Regions from separate parts of the Homo sapiens genome. Here all the other regions are linked to region 1. The links are contacts of gene promoters, found by promoter capture Hi-C in human tissues and cell types (Jung and others, 2019). All regions are on one chromosome and are shown on one strand. The core of a region is centred on a gene start or on the middle of the fragment in contact, and the rest is flanking DNA. Distances in the headings are between cores, read along the strand shown.

The links. Contacts are between HindIII fragments. The study calls those that stand out against the background at their distance.
Region 2: a contact is called between a fragment that was not itself captured here and the fragment with the promoter of PAX6 in region 1, in 1 of the 25 tissues and cell types used here (H1 embryonic stem cells).
Region 3: a fragment that was not itself captured here is called in contact with the fragment with the promoter of PAX6 in region 1 in 3 of the 25 tissues and cell types used here (H1 embryonic stem cells, liver and lymphoblastoid cells).

The regions. Positions count from the first base shown.
Region 1 is chr11:31,810,072-31,814,438 of GRCh38, reverse strand. PAX6 (paired box 6) reads left to right here and starts at 3,117. Exons shown (of 14, transcript NM_001368894.2): 1 at 3,117-3,324; 2 at 3,424-3,611. RefSeq lists a silencer at 1-62, enhancers at 906-1,874, 3,222-3,279, 2,982-3,551 and a promoter at 2,925-3,334. The HindIII fragment of the contact is 12,830 bases long and covers 1-4,367 here.
Region 2 is chr11:32,005,827-32,010,193 of GRCh38, reverse strand. It overlaps LOC124902658 (a long non-coding RNA gene), which reads right to left. Exons shown (of 2, transcript XR_007062645.1): 1 at 4,218-4,367; 2 at 1,995-3,639. Among named protein-coding and RNA genes, the nearest start is that of LINC03031, 33 kb to the left of the region's middle. The HindIII fragment of the contact is 3,311 bases long and covers 731-4,041 here.
Region 3 is chr11:31,958,159-31,962,525 of GRCh38, reverse strand. No RefSeq gene overlaps it. Among named protein-coding and RNA genes, the nearest start is that of LINC03031, 81 kb to the left of the region's middle. The HindIII fragment of the contact is 7,890 bases long and covers 1-4,367 here.

The DNA.
Region 1 (4,367 bases), core at 1,868-4,367:
CTGAAGCTGGGAGCTGGAGGCACTTCCCCCCAGAAGTGGGCACTTCTTTGCCTCCCCGAAGGCCTGATGGGGTGGGCACAGGGGAATGCCAGGGATCGGTGCGGGTGAGATGCTTGCCTCACCTCATGTTGACGCATCAATACTGGCTAGAAGCTCTGGGCAGGCTCTGGCGAGCCACGGTCCCCCAGCGGGACTCCCTCCACGCAGACAGCCCCGCTACCGGGTGGGACGACCCCGGCGGCCCCCGCGGGAACGCACCCGCCGGCCTGAGAGGTCCTCCCTCTGGCCACAGGGGGCGGAGGGTAGGGGGGAACAGGGGCCTGTGGGGAGGCGGGGAAAGGAGACAGAACCTAAAGCGCAATCCCCGCCGCCCCCCCGCGTCTTGGAGGGCAGCAAGTGGGCCTCGGGCGTGTTGGTAGCCGCAATTAAAATGGCGACCTGCGAGTTGTCTCGGTTTTGTACACACCTCTGGCAACCGCGCCCGCACCTCAGTCTCGGCCCCCACACCCCTAGGCCGCTTCGCCCCCAGAGCCGGTACTTGGCAGAGGGAGTGAGGCTCCCCACGAGGTAGAACAGCACCCCCACCTTCCTTGAGACCAGTCCAGAGAGAACGAGGAAATCTCACTCTCACCCCTCTCTCCTTAAACTTTGAAAACTCGGCCTCATTCTGGGGTTGAACTCCCCTCCCCAAATATTGACACATGGGAAGCAGCCAAGTCCTTTTTGTTTTTTGTTTGTGCGGAGGAGTTTCCAGGAGTCTTTCCCGGAGCCCCCTTCCCCACCCAATGACGTCAGTGGCATTCACTCCTCGCTCCTTGCCTTTTCTGATTTTTTGTTAAAACTTTTCTCCGCAGCGAGATGGGGGTTGGAGGGGTGGGAGAAGGAGCTGATTCAAAGAGCCAGTGCCCTGGGGGGAAATAGCAACAAGATTACGGCTGCTTCTTTCCGAGGCAAAGCTTAAGAAGGTGCTAATCCACTCGGTCGCTAATTGAGAGGTTGTAAAAATGATACTCGCCTCCAGTTCGGACAGAATCACTTCCCCCCCCCCCGCCCCCCCGCAAGTCCCTCGCTCATGCACAGCGGACTTGAGTCTTGAGTCCAAGCTTCTTTAATGCTCGCTTGGAAAGTAAAAGGAGAGAGAAAGAGAAAGCCGACTTTCGCTGGTCTGGGACTCAGGGCCGCGGCCCCACTTGCCGGCATCCTCCGAAAGTCGCGCTCCTGCGAAATGAAACCTCGCCCAGGAGGCCGCGGACCTGGACACCCGGCGCCACCTCCTTCACCTCTGACCCAGGTTTCCTCCCGGCGCTGCGAGCTCCCGGGGAAGGGTTAGAGCCGGCAGCCCTCCCCAGCCCGGGGAGGGGAGAGGGTTATGCGACCCCACCTCTGGCTAGGGCCGGGGAGGCCTTTGCTTCCCGGGAGCCCTGCCCGGGCTCCTTGGTCGCAGGGCTGCTGGGTCCCAGGCAGGAACGAGAGGGTGAGGCCCACATGTGGCCCGGCGGCCCAGGGCGGCTTGCAGCGTCCTCACTGTCCCGGCTGCCAGGGGCTGCGGCGACGCGGCCAGTCAGCAGCGAGTTCAGGTCGCGCAGATTTTATTGATGAGCTCTGACTTTCAGCACTTTCCCTAAGTCAAGAAGAGTCTAGCGTACCCTTCGGCTGCTTCATTTCAGCCTCCCTGCCTCAGCTCTTCAGCCCTATTCCCCCTCGCCCTGTCCTGGGGTGTGTACAGCAGCCCAGGCCTTCCTTCTCCTTCCCGGCTCCGTGGCCCGAAGCCGCCGAGAGAGCTCGGGACAGCGCAGGACCAGGCAGCCGCTCGCTCTCCTGTCACCTTAACTGCAGGCTCCGAGGGGCGCCTTTGGAGTGTACTGAGGTGTGTCCTAATCGTGCGGCATTCAACAAATGGACTTCTGGTGTGTGGTCAGAAGAGAAAAGCCATTTACTTACTTTCCTCCCCGGTTTTCTGGCAACAGCTGAAGGGGAGCTGCCTCCGTGGACTGAGCAGACCCAGGAGAGGGAGTCGTGGTGCGGAGACACACGCACCACACACAGATGACCGGTGGCACACACGACACACGCTGACATACCGACATCGCCAGTGGGACACACACACACACACACACACACACACACACACACACAGAGAGAGAGAGAGAATCCCTCCCAGCATTGGTCATCCGCCCCCCCACCCAGGCTTCCACTCCCCCTCCCCTCTTATCTCCCCTGGCTTCCCCTCCTCTCGGGCGCTGCGAAAAGCAGCCGCACTTAGTCAACAAATGGCACGTGGGAGAAGTTGGTGAGTGTTTGGTGAGGACTCTTCAGGGCTTTTCACAAGAACCCTCTGTACACAAAGTAAGTGGCGTGTTTACTCGGGCCTCTCCAGCCAGAGCTGTGCCTCTGCTCCGCTGCGCACCGCGGCTTCCGAAAGGAGAAAGGAGAGAAGAAAGGGCGGGGAGAGCGGGGTGGAGGATTTGGACAGGCCCTGGAGGCTTGGGCTGGGGAGGCCTCTGGCCTCGTTTAGTTCTCGGCCCGGCAACCTCCTCTCGGCCTAGGCTTCGCCGCGGCCTCCGCAGCTGGAATGGAGCTGCCAGGACCCAGTGACGCTCCCGCCCCTTTCCTCTTCTTCCAAGGGGCCAGGTGGGCTGGGGTGCGGCCGCCGCTGTGCTCTGTGTCTTGGGGCCCCGGCTGGGATGGGGTGGGGGCGGGCGGGGGCGGGGCGGCAGGCCACGCTGTCCTGGAGTTGGCAAGAAAGGACAGCACAGAAACTTGCACCCTCCGAGGACTGGGAGTCCCGAGTCCAGCTTAGGGGGAGTGGGGGCGCGACCCCCAACCCAGAAACCTTCACTTGACCGCTCAAGTTCGCGGCAGCAGGGCGGGCCGCGCCGAATCTCGGCGTGCGCGGAGCGGGGAGATGCAGGCGAGCGCCAGAGCCCGGGCTCGGGGGCCCTGCGCCGGGGAGAGGAGCCGGGACCCACCGGCGGAGCCGAAAACAAGTGTATTCATATTCAAACAAACGGACCAATTGCACCAGGCGGGGAGAGGGAGCATCCAATCGGCTGGCGCGAGGCCCCGGCGCTGCTTTGCATAAAGCAATATTTTGTGTGAGAGCGAGCGGTGCATTTGCATGTTGCGGAGTGATTAGTGGGTTTGAAAAGGGAACCGTGGCTCGGCCTCATTTCCCGCTCTGGTTCAGGCGCAGGAGGAAGTGTTTTGCTGGAGGATGATGACAGAGGTCAGGCTTCGCTAATGGGCCAGTGAGGAGCGGTGGAGGCGAGGCCGGGCGCCGGCACACACACATTAACACACTTGAGCCATCACCAATCAGCATAGGTGTGCTGGCTGCAGCCACTTCCCTCACCCACACTCTTTATCTCTCACTCTCCAGCCGCTGACAGCCCATTTTATTGTCAATCTCTGTCTCCTTCCCAGGAATCTGAGAATTGCTCTCACACACCAACCCAGCAACATCCGTGGAGAAAACTCTCACCAGCAACTCCTTTAAAACACCGTCATTTCAAACCATTGTGGTCTTCAAGCAACAACAGCAGCACAAAAAACCCCAACCAAACAAAACTCTTGACAGAAGCTGTGACAACCAGAAAGGATGCCTCATAAAGGTGAGTCCGCTTCTTTCTTCTCGCTTTATTTTTATTGCAATATTCAGACAGGTCTCCCCCTTCCTCCCCCCTTCCTTCCTCCCCTCTCGCCGGTCCCCTCCCCCACTGCTACGCCGGGAGAGTTGGGCCGGAGAAGTTTCCACGCAGGAGCCCAAACTTTCTACTTCCAGCGAAAGCCCGCGTCGGAGGGCGACTGCCGGCGAGCGGGAGCGGCGCAGGGCTCGGGGCGGGCGGCCAGCTCAGCCCCAGCGCCAGCGCCAGCGCCAGCGCGGGCTGAGCTCGCGGGAAGAAGGGAGACTCCAGGCGCGACAGCAGCCGCGGCTCCTAGCCCCAGCGTCGCCCAATGCTCCCGACCCGCGGGAAAAGACGAAGAGGCTCTGTGGTGCCCAAGGCCCTGGAACGGCCGCAGAGAGCAACCGCTGCCGGCTGCTTTGTCCAGCCCGAGGCCCAGCGAACGCGCAGAGAGCGGGCGCTCCGAGGACTCGCCGAGGGAGCGCCGAGGGAACCTGCTCGCCGCGTCTCCGCCCGCCCGCCGGCCCTCGGGCTTTGTGCCGCACTGGGCTCCGGCGCAGAAGAGTCAGCCGGCACTCGAGCGCCGAGGGGGGCACCGCGCCCGCCACCAGCCCGAGTGGAGTCAGTCGGCAAGGCAGCCGCACGCTGGAGGTAGAGGGAAGAGCGAGCTAGCGCGAGCCGGGAAGGAAGCCACCAGGCCAAGGCGGTGGAACGCGCGCTCCGAGGGAGCTCAGAGCCGAGCGG
Region 2 (4,367 bases), core at 1,137-3,636, 200 kb before region 1:
GGAAAGAAAATGGGGAAATGCACTGAATGAAGACAGAAGCAATGCAGACAAGATGAGACAATGTGAGTTTATATCGGGGCCATGAGTTACCCAGAGGCTTGTCTGGAGCAGTCCTCCAGGTACACTGAAGGCTCACATGGGTGCCTTTCCTAAGGCTGGATACAGTAGCCCAGCTGCCTTGGGCAGGGAGCCCCCCGACACACCCTTCACCAAAATGGCACCATCAGAGCCCATCCTGAGTCCTCTCTACACAGGGCCTCTGGTGACTCTGGAACCTGCTTATGGGTCCTGGAATCCAGAATTCCATGACTATGAGACGTCGAACACTACGAACACTAGGAGTCCTCCCTGTCTTTGAAATTAGCCCTGTTGACCCACAATCCTGTGGTTAGCATGAGATTTGGGTTGGACGGTTTCGAGGTGAAATCCCAGCTTTGCTGCTCCCTTGCTCTGTCTCCTCGGACAAATGACCTCTGCTCTCTGAGTTCCTTAGTTGTAAAACAGGGGTTATCACACTTATCTTACAATGTTTTGTTGGGATTGAATGAGAGAGGTGGAAGTTGTGTGATAGAATGGGGCTGGGGAAGCTGTGGTTGGAGAAATAAGGTCTTGGTTAGCAATGAACAATCTGAGAGCTACTTAGTTCATTTCATTTACTCCTCCCAACCAAGCGCACCTTTATCCGCATTTTATAGATGAGAAAATTGTGGCTCAGAAGGGGTAGGCAACTTGTCCCAGGTCACATGAGTAGAAAGTGGCTAAGCTGGCATTCAAACCCAGGTCTCTCAGGCACCGCAGCACTACACACCCTCCCACATCATGCATATAATGCATATGCGGATTTTCTTGTTTCCGAGCACAGCCAGTGTTGGCTGCTCCACGGGGCACAAAGCAGAAGAAACCTTGACTTGCTGAAACTCACTCTAAGAGCACTGCTTCTTGTCTCTTTCTCTTCTCATTTATCCACAGACCCCCCAGATGGCCATGGAGGTAGCAAGATGGCCAAGAATTTCAGTTAAAGAAAACTCCATGTGCTTTCTCTCCAAGATGAATGTGTATTTCCCAGGTAAAGCTGGAGCCCCTGATGCACAGGAGCAGTTGAGAGTGGCCTGGGCGGCCCCTGCATTTCTGAGGCAGTCCCAGCAGAGAGTTTGCCTGTGTTGTTATGTGTCCTTATTCGTTAAGGATTCTCTGTATTGAGATGCAACCTAATTAGGGTTGAGCTCAAAGGCTGTTCATTTGGGGGCTTAGTTCATAAAAGATTAATGTTCATTTTCCCTGGGTTTTGTTGCAGAATTCAGCTGGAAAAAATCCAGGGTGCACTTCTTCCAAGAGAAGTAGCACTTTGGTGGTTTGTGAAAATCCCTTTTCCCTCATGTTAAAGCCTTGATTTTTATGTCTCCCTCACCACTTCCCACACTCCCCACCCTAGCATTTTGATTTCTGGTGATGTATGAGAGAAAAAAATGAATTCTGTAATCAGGGAAATCTGTTGGAGATATTATTCAAAGTGAACGTATTTACTTACAGACAATTTTTTAAACAGGTGGCAAATAAAACAAAGCACATAGGAAAACAGTTCCTCATTCATTCATTTATTTATTCTCTCATTGAGCAAATATTTATTGAATACCTGTTATATGCCAGGCACTGGGCATTTACATTATATATTTCATCTGATTTTTCTTTTTGTGATTTGCTTGAGCAATTTAATTCTATCATTAAAGTGATAATGTGAAGTGCTTCCTACCTATGAATGGGTAGCTTCCTATAGTACTTCTGCTGAGAGAAAATCATATCTATCCAATGAAACAAATGTTAACTGTATTTTCTGATAACAAAAGTAATATATGCTAGTGGTAAAGATGTGAAACAATATGGACCGATTACATTTAAGAAGTAGCCACCTTTCATAATCCCAACTCCTAGAGATTTCCACTGTTAATGGACTGGTGTATATTCTTCCAGGTTTCGTTTTAAGCAACAAACTACAATTAATAATACAATTTTATTTACAGAAATGGAAAACAGCACTTCTGTTATGCAACATGTGTTAGTCACTTAATAACTGAACCTATTGTGGTGCACTGTCCGTGTGAGCCCCCAGAGAACCTCCTTGTTTTAAATGGCTGCATGGTGTTCCATTGTGTAACATCTTTATTCTGGCAGTTCTCTATTCAGGATATTTTGGTCGTTTCTAATTTGCTATTATTACAAGCAATGCTTCAGTGGACCTTCTTGTAGCCACATTGGGGTGTTTCTACCAGTATTTCTGTGAATAGATTCCTAGAAGTGGAGTTAATGAGTCCAAGTGATGAGTGCCTTTTTTTTTGCTAATTTCTTAATTGTTGTATGAAATGTCAAGACCATTCACACAGAAGACATGTTGTCTTCTGTAATCCTTTCCCTCACACTCCTTCCTTTCTCTAGTTCCACTCTTCTCAAGATATTTTTAAAGCAAGGGTAACAGGTGTTTGGGAAAATGGCTCTCTAGTTTTGAAAGGAAGCAAAAGTAGAACATAGCTGAATCTTTCTTGCTCTGAGCAGCTCTAGCTGCAGGTGAATGAACAAAAATAGCCTCTTCCCTTCCCTGGAGTCAACGTCCTTGTGAATTCTTGCTGACATGATCATTCCCCTGGGAGGGCCAAAGCCTGGATTTGCTTTTCTTTATATTCCGTAGGTGACCTGGCCAGCAGAAAACAATAATAATCACGGATGTTTGTGGGGGAAAGCATCATTTAAGCTTAATTAGTGACTGTGTTCCTCAAACAGACAGTGACAGTTTGAGTCTCTAAAACTCCTTTGAGGTAATATTATCATTGCAGGATACAGCATCTTAGGTCAGATGAGCCATTTCTGTGTTTGATAAACTTAGGAATAGAGTAGCTCTAGTCCCAATTCTTCAACTTCAAATACTTATTAACATATGTATCTCCCTAAACCCTGCACTTTACTAGTATATTTTTTGACATTTCTCTGTTAAAACTGAAAACACATAGCTGGATACATTGTAGAAATGCAAATCTTATCTATGTGGATGTCTCTAAAATTTTACTTCTGTGTTTCTTGGGCCACATTTAAATGAGAGGTCTGTGTCATCACAATTAAAAGATCCCAAGAGGACCTTCTCAAGAAGGCTGAAGCCACTGCCACAGAGCTTCCTCCTCCATCCCTGGCTGATTTTGCTATCTCTGTCCAACAGAGGGCAGTCCATTTCTCTCATTGGCCTGTTCACGTTTGAAAAACGTTCCTTAAAAACAGATCATTCTCAGCATCTCAGAAGTCAAGCACCTTTCTCTTTATCGAAATCATTCTCAGCACACTTCTAGGAATTACACACCAGTGAATATTCCAAACATAGGACGGACGTGGAGATTTTCTTTTGTTAGAAATACCTCCATTGCTCAGAGTCAAAACTAGGAACTGAGCAAAATTCGTGTCTTAAATTTGTGTTCTGAAGTTGTTTCTTTTTGCCGCTTTGGTTTTCTGCTTTTGTTTTTGTTTTTGTTTTTCTAAGTCTCACTATCCTGGCAGGTCAGGAGAGTTGATTTTGAACAATTTGGAATTACAAGTAGTTTAATCTCTTCCCAACACTAGTCATTATCAAGTTTTTGCTGTTATCAACTTGGATATTTCTCACTGTGGGGGAAAAAGAGGTTAGAGGCCTGATGAGTCACAGGGCTGGAAAGGGGGCCGGGAGCGAGGACACTTTGTGTTGTTGACGGAAGGGCCCGCCACTCTTGGAAGAAGATTTGCCATCGATAACAAACAACCCGCACCGTTTCCCTTAGGTTGGCACAATGATGTTCAACATAATGAGACGTCGGGTCCAGTGCCAATCCCTCTCTGACTGCTGGTTAGAGTTTCTATCCTTCCAACTCCACCACAAGGAAAATAGTGCTGAGGAAGAAACTGTCCTGAGAAGTCTTGGGGGAGAGCAGGGGAAAAGGCGGAGGAGAAGAAGCACTAACTGCCAGGGCGGGAGCTTTGTCCCCTCTGGGACACCGTCCAGAGATGGAAACTGGCATCCCGACAGGCCTCGCCAAGGCCACCTGCTTACTGGTGGAACAACTGAGACTCCAGCTGGGTTTCCGTTGCTTTCACTCCAGTGGTAGTTTGTCCCCCAGGCCAGTCCCCATGAAGCACTCCTGGTGTTCAAATCCCTGTGCAGTCCCCTCCCACCCTTCCAAACAATCTGGATTGTACCTGTGACTCACCCATAACCAACAGGATGTGGCAGAAATCACACTCTACTGCTTCCAGGCTTTAAGAAGGCATAGCAGATTCCACTTGTACACTCTCGCAAGCCATCTACTGTGTAAGAAGTCCAGCTACTCCACTGGAGAGAGACCCCTGCAGAGGCCGTG
Region 3 (4,367 bases), core at 1,034-3,533, 150 kb before region 1:
ACAATGCGTAAGATGACAAATTTATGTTATGTGTATTTTACCATTTAAAAAAAAACCCTAAAGATTTGTTTGTTTTCGTTTTTAGGGAGGAAAATGGCATTTTTCTAACTGCTATTCCCTAAAGGCTTAATTGTACCCCCTGGGGCCTTCATCATTTTCTCTCACCCACTCAATAAACATTATAGAAAGATCCAGAAACTAAGAGTGTAAGTTTCAGCTATAAAAACAACCATCCCCATTTGTACAGCACTTTACACTTTACTGCACTCTTCTAGTTTGGTTCTCCTTGCCATCCTGTGAGAAGAGCAGGCTGGGTTTTCTGTCATTCTGATTCTATGGATGAAAACTGAGGAGTGAATTGTCCCATGTCAGAGGAGGGGTTCAGATCCCAGTCCTTTGGCTCCAAGCTCTCTAAACCCTGGGAAGAATGGAGAAGGAAAAGTATGGAGAAGGGAAAGGCTCTGAGAGTCCTGTGGCCCTGCACACTGTCGGCTGGAGGCCTGCCTCCTGGAAGGTCGTAATGGCTGCTGCCCTTGATTGCACAAAACAGCAACATCCCCTCCTTCCCAGAAAGCCTTTGGGTCTTGACTGACTTACTAACTTTTATATTTGACAAGTACGTCAACAATTTTAAAAGCCAACTATCATCTGCTGCCAACATTTTAATACCAAAAGAATAGTCCTTTAAATGGAGTAAGTTTATTTTCAGTTAAAAATTGCCATATTATCTTATCTTTTCACATTTCATGTAGCCTAGAGAAAAGTATGGCCCCCACCGTATTTGAGGCCCTCTTATCAATATTGATTGTGGAGTTATTCACTGTATTTGTTACTGATGATTAAAGCAACAATATGTGTGAATGAATTTTAAGTAATTTTGGCAGATTCAAAGTTATCCCATGTGGTTGCCAAAATATGCCCCTCCCATACCCACTGCCGCCCCCAGCTGCCAACCCCAAAGATGTCCACAATCCTAATTCCTACAACCTATGAATCTGTTGTATCATATGGCAAGTAGAAACTGCAAATGGAATTAAGGTTGCTAATCACCTGATCTTAAAATAGGGCAATTATCCTGGATTATTGGGGTGAACTCAGTGTAATCACAAGGCATCTTAAGTGGAGAAGAGTCAGAGAGATGGCATAGGAGTAAAGACTCATCTGACCATTGCTGGCTTTGAAGACAGAATGTGGCCACAAGCCAAGGAAGGAGGTAGCCTTTAAAATCTGGAAAAGGCAAGCAAACAATTCTCCCCTAGAGCCTGCAGAAAAAGCATAGCCCGGCCGACACCTTGATTTTAGCCCACTGGCATCCATTTAGGACTTCTGAGCTTCAGAACTGTAAGATAATACAATCGTATTGGCTTAAGCCAACAAGTTGGTGGTAATTTGTTACAGCAGCCACCTGAAGCAAATGCAGATTTCACGCAGCCTGGAGAAAAGTATGGCACCCATTTGCGTTTGAGGACTTGTGATCTACAACAGTTATGAAGTCATTCACAAATAATTTGTTACTGATAATGATTAAATCTATGTGTGAATGAGTTTTAGCAATTTTTGAGCAGATTCAAGAGTATCCCTATCACAGTGTTATTTTCCAAATTGCTTCCCTGAGTGAAAAAGACGGGGTTATAGCTGGGGCTGAAAATCATACAGAAATCATGAACGCATTTTTTTCTTTTGGATTGAGCATTTATTTTGTGCTCAAGACTGTCCTCAGTGCTTTATCTACATAATCACAGTTACCCACCCACCCCCCAAAACCTGGAAGGTAGGTACTATTCATATCACTCATTTACTTGCCCAAGATAATGCAAAGCTAGTGATCGAGCTAGGATTCGAACCTGTCATCAATGAGGAGAGTGGGTTGGGCAACCTCATGCCACTGGATAGGTGTGTTGTCATAGGTAGAGAAGGTTGAGAACCCTAACCTAGCACAGGAAGCCACACCGCTGCATATATCAGGGCCGCCTGCCCTAGCCGGGCCATACAACACGTCTGCCACTCCACTATCATCAAGCTGTGGCACTCTTTTCCCAATTTACAAAAACAAAACTTTTTAAATAATAATAATTTCAATGGAAAAGCATTTCTCAAGTTAGCTTCTTCTCTGACACATTTCTCTTAAACTTTTGTTACTTGGTTACCATTGTTTGAGTGTCTACGTGCCAAGCACTAGAGGGAGTAAAACATATTATTTGTCATTAAGTCCTCACCCCAGTATTTTCCGTCCCTTTGACAGATGAGGAAATGGAGTTTCAGAGACGTGAAGTAACTACTGCAGAGTTAAATAGCCAATAAATAGCAGGAGACTCCAGGGCTCCACAGTCAGATGTAGCCCTAAATTATCTATTTAATCCTTTAAACTTAAAACGTTAATGCTTCATGGTTTTCTGCAAAAATCCCAGTGACTTCCAAGTGCTGGACCTGAAGATTCCCGGTCTGGCATTTGCTCTTTCGATCATGTGCTGTCCTCATATGCAGTTTATTTATTAGGCCTGAGACATTGCGACTTAGCTCCAAGTTCCCTTGAGGCTATTTTCTTGAGACTTTGGAGGTTTCAAGCAAATCAGGGATTGGCTAACAAAACATTCTAAAACAGGTGAGTCATGGTTAAGTCTTACCCATAAGAGGAAGCCAAGTGTAAAGTCTGAGGGGATTCAAAGGACTCTCCCTTTCTCTCCTTCCTCACCCTGAAACCTGGCTGTGCTCCCTAGACACGTTCATAGTGGCAAAGTCATGGCTGTTTCAGCATATTAATAGGACGACTCTGGGAGCGATAAAGGCCATAGAATGGAGCCACTGAGAGAAGCTTTTGTGTCTCCAAGACTCCAACCCCTTTGATGAAACAGATGTTTGGGCCAGGCCCTCCTTTACAAGGAGAGTTAAACCTCAGTAAACAGCAGGAAAACCTCCTTGGTGGCAATGAACAGCCCACACGCTGGTCTTCCCTAGCAGCAGATGGGCTGGGGAAGGGGTGGCCTCCTGTCATCAAGCCCTGTGCCACCCGCTCAGAGACTGCAGAGCTGGTGTCTGTGACACGTGGTCGGTCACCTTGGAGGCTTTGATTTACGGTTGACTTTGGGAAAGACCAGCCTCTGACCTTGGCAGCCTGTTGCCTCACCATCTTTTCTCTAGGTTGGGAGAACTTTCCATCAAGATGGATGCACATCCCAAGTCTGGCCCCATGAAGGAGCTTCCCAGAGACCTTCTGGCTCAAATGTAGCAGGAAGGCTTGAAATGAAACCCTTTCCTCATCTGCCAGTGTCCCTGGAGCAATCTACAGACAAATGTAGGAAAATCCAGGACTAATATTGCCTCATGAGTTGAAGCTCAACATTTGAGAGTGCTGTATGTATCATCCACAGGCCCATGAAGCCTTCCTGGGTTTACTCTGAAGCATCAACTGCCCCAACTGCACAGCCAGGCTGCTCGAAAACAAAAACAAAAAAAATACATGGGAGTTACCCAAGGATGATTTTTCTCAAAATCTGCCAAGTAGTTCATTCAGTTTAGGGTGTGCGTTTGGGTAGGGTCAATTATTTCAGCAAAACTGTGGATTTAGCATTATCTTCCTTGAACCAGAAACATCTGCATAGGATGTATAAGCCAACAGGCAGTTAGAAATGGCCGAACAGGTGGGTGTAAAGAAGAAAAAAAAAATGTGTGAGCTATATTTAATTGAATACCAAAAATAGCTAATACATACTGAGCACTTACCATGGGCCACAAACTGTGCTAAGCACGTCATATGTATCCCACTCAATTCTTGCAGTGATCCTCTGAGGTTGATACTCTTATTATCCTTATTCTGTAGGAGATGAAACAGACACAGAGAGGTTAAGTAAGTTGGCCAAGGTTGCACAGCTATTAAGTGCCAAGCTGAGATTTGAACCCAGGCAACCAGGCTCCAAAGTCCATATGCTAACTACTATGATCGTCTTTAAAATCTGCCTAAAAGTAGATGGACGAGAGAGTTGCCCCTTTAAGACAAGTTAATCCTCGGTGTTCAAATTGGCTGTCTATGTGCATGTGTGTATGCGCAAGACACACGACTGCACACACTGTGAACTGAAACGTTTGGAGCTCCCAGAACCCCCCTGTTCCCATCTTATGAGTGCAGAGACACAGCTCTTCCCTCCCCAGGCATTTTGGCAGGCCAGAGGCCCGCTTAAGCCAGAGGCCTTGGCCGGCCAGGCTACCGGGAGGTGGCGCTGTGTCACTTTCCTACTCCGGAGCTTTTGTTTTCTGCGGGCTGCACGCTGGAGGTGGGGAGGCCAATTTGAGCAGAGCCTGTCGCCAATTTCCCTGATTTGAAATCTCACTCTCTTCTGTCACTTCCTTCAAATGAGCTGGGAGATGTTCAA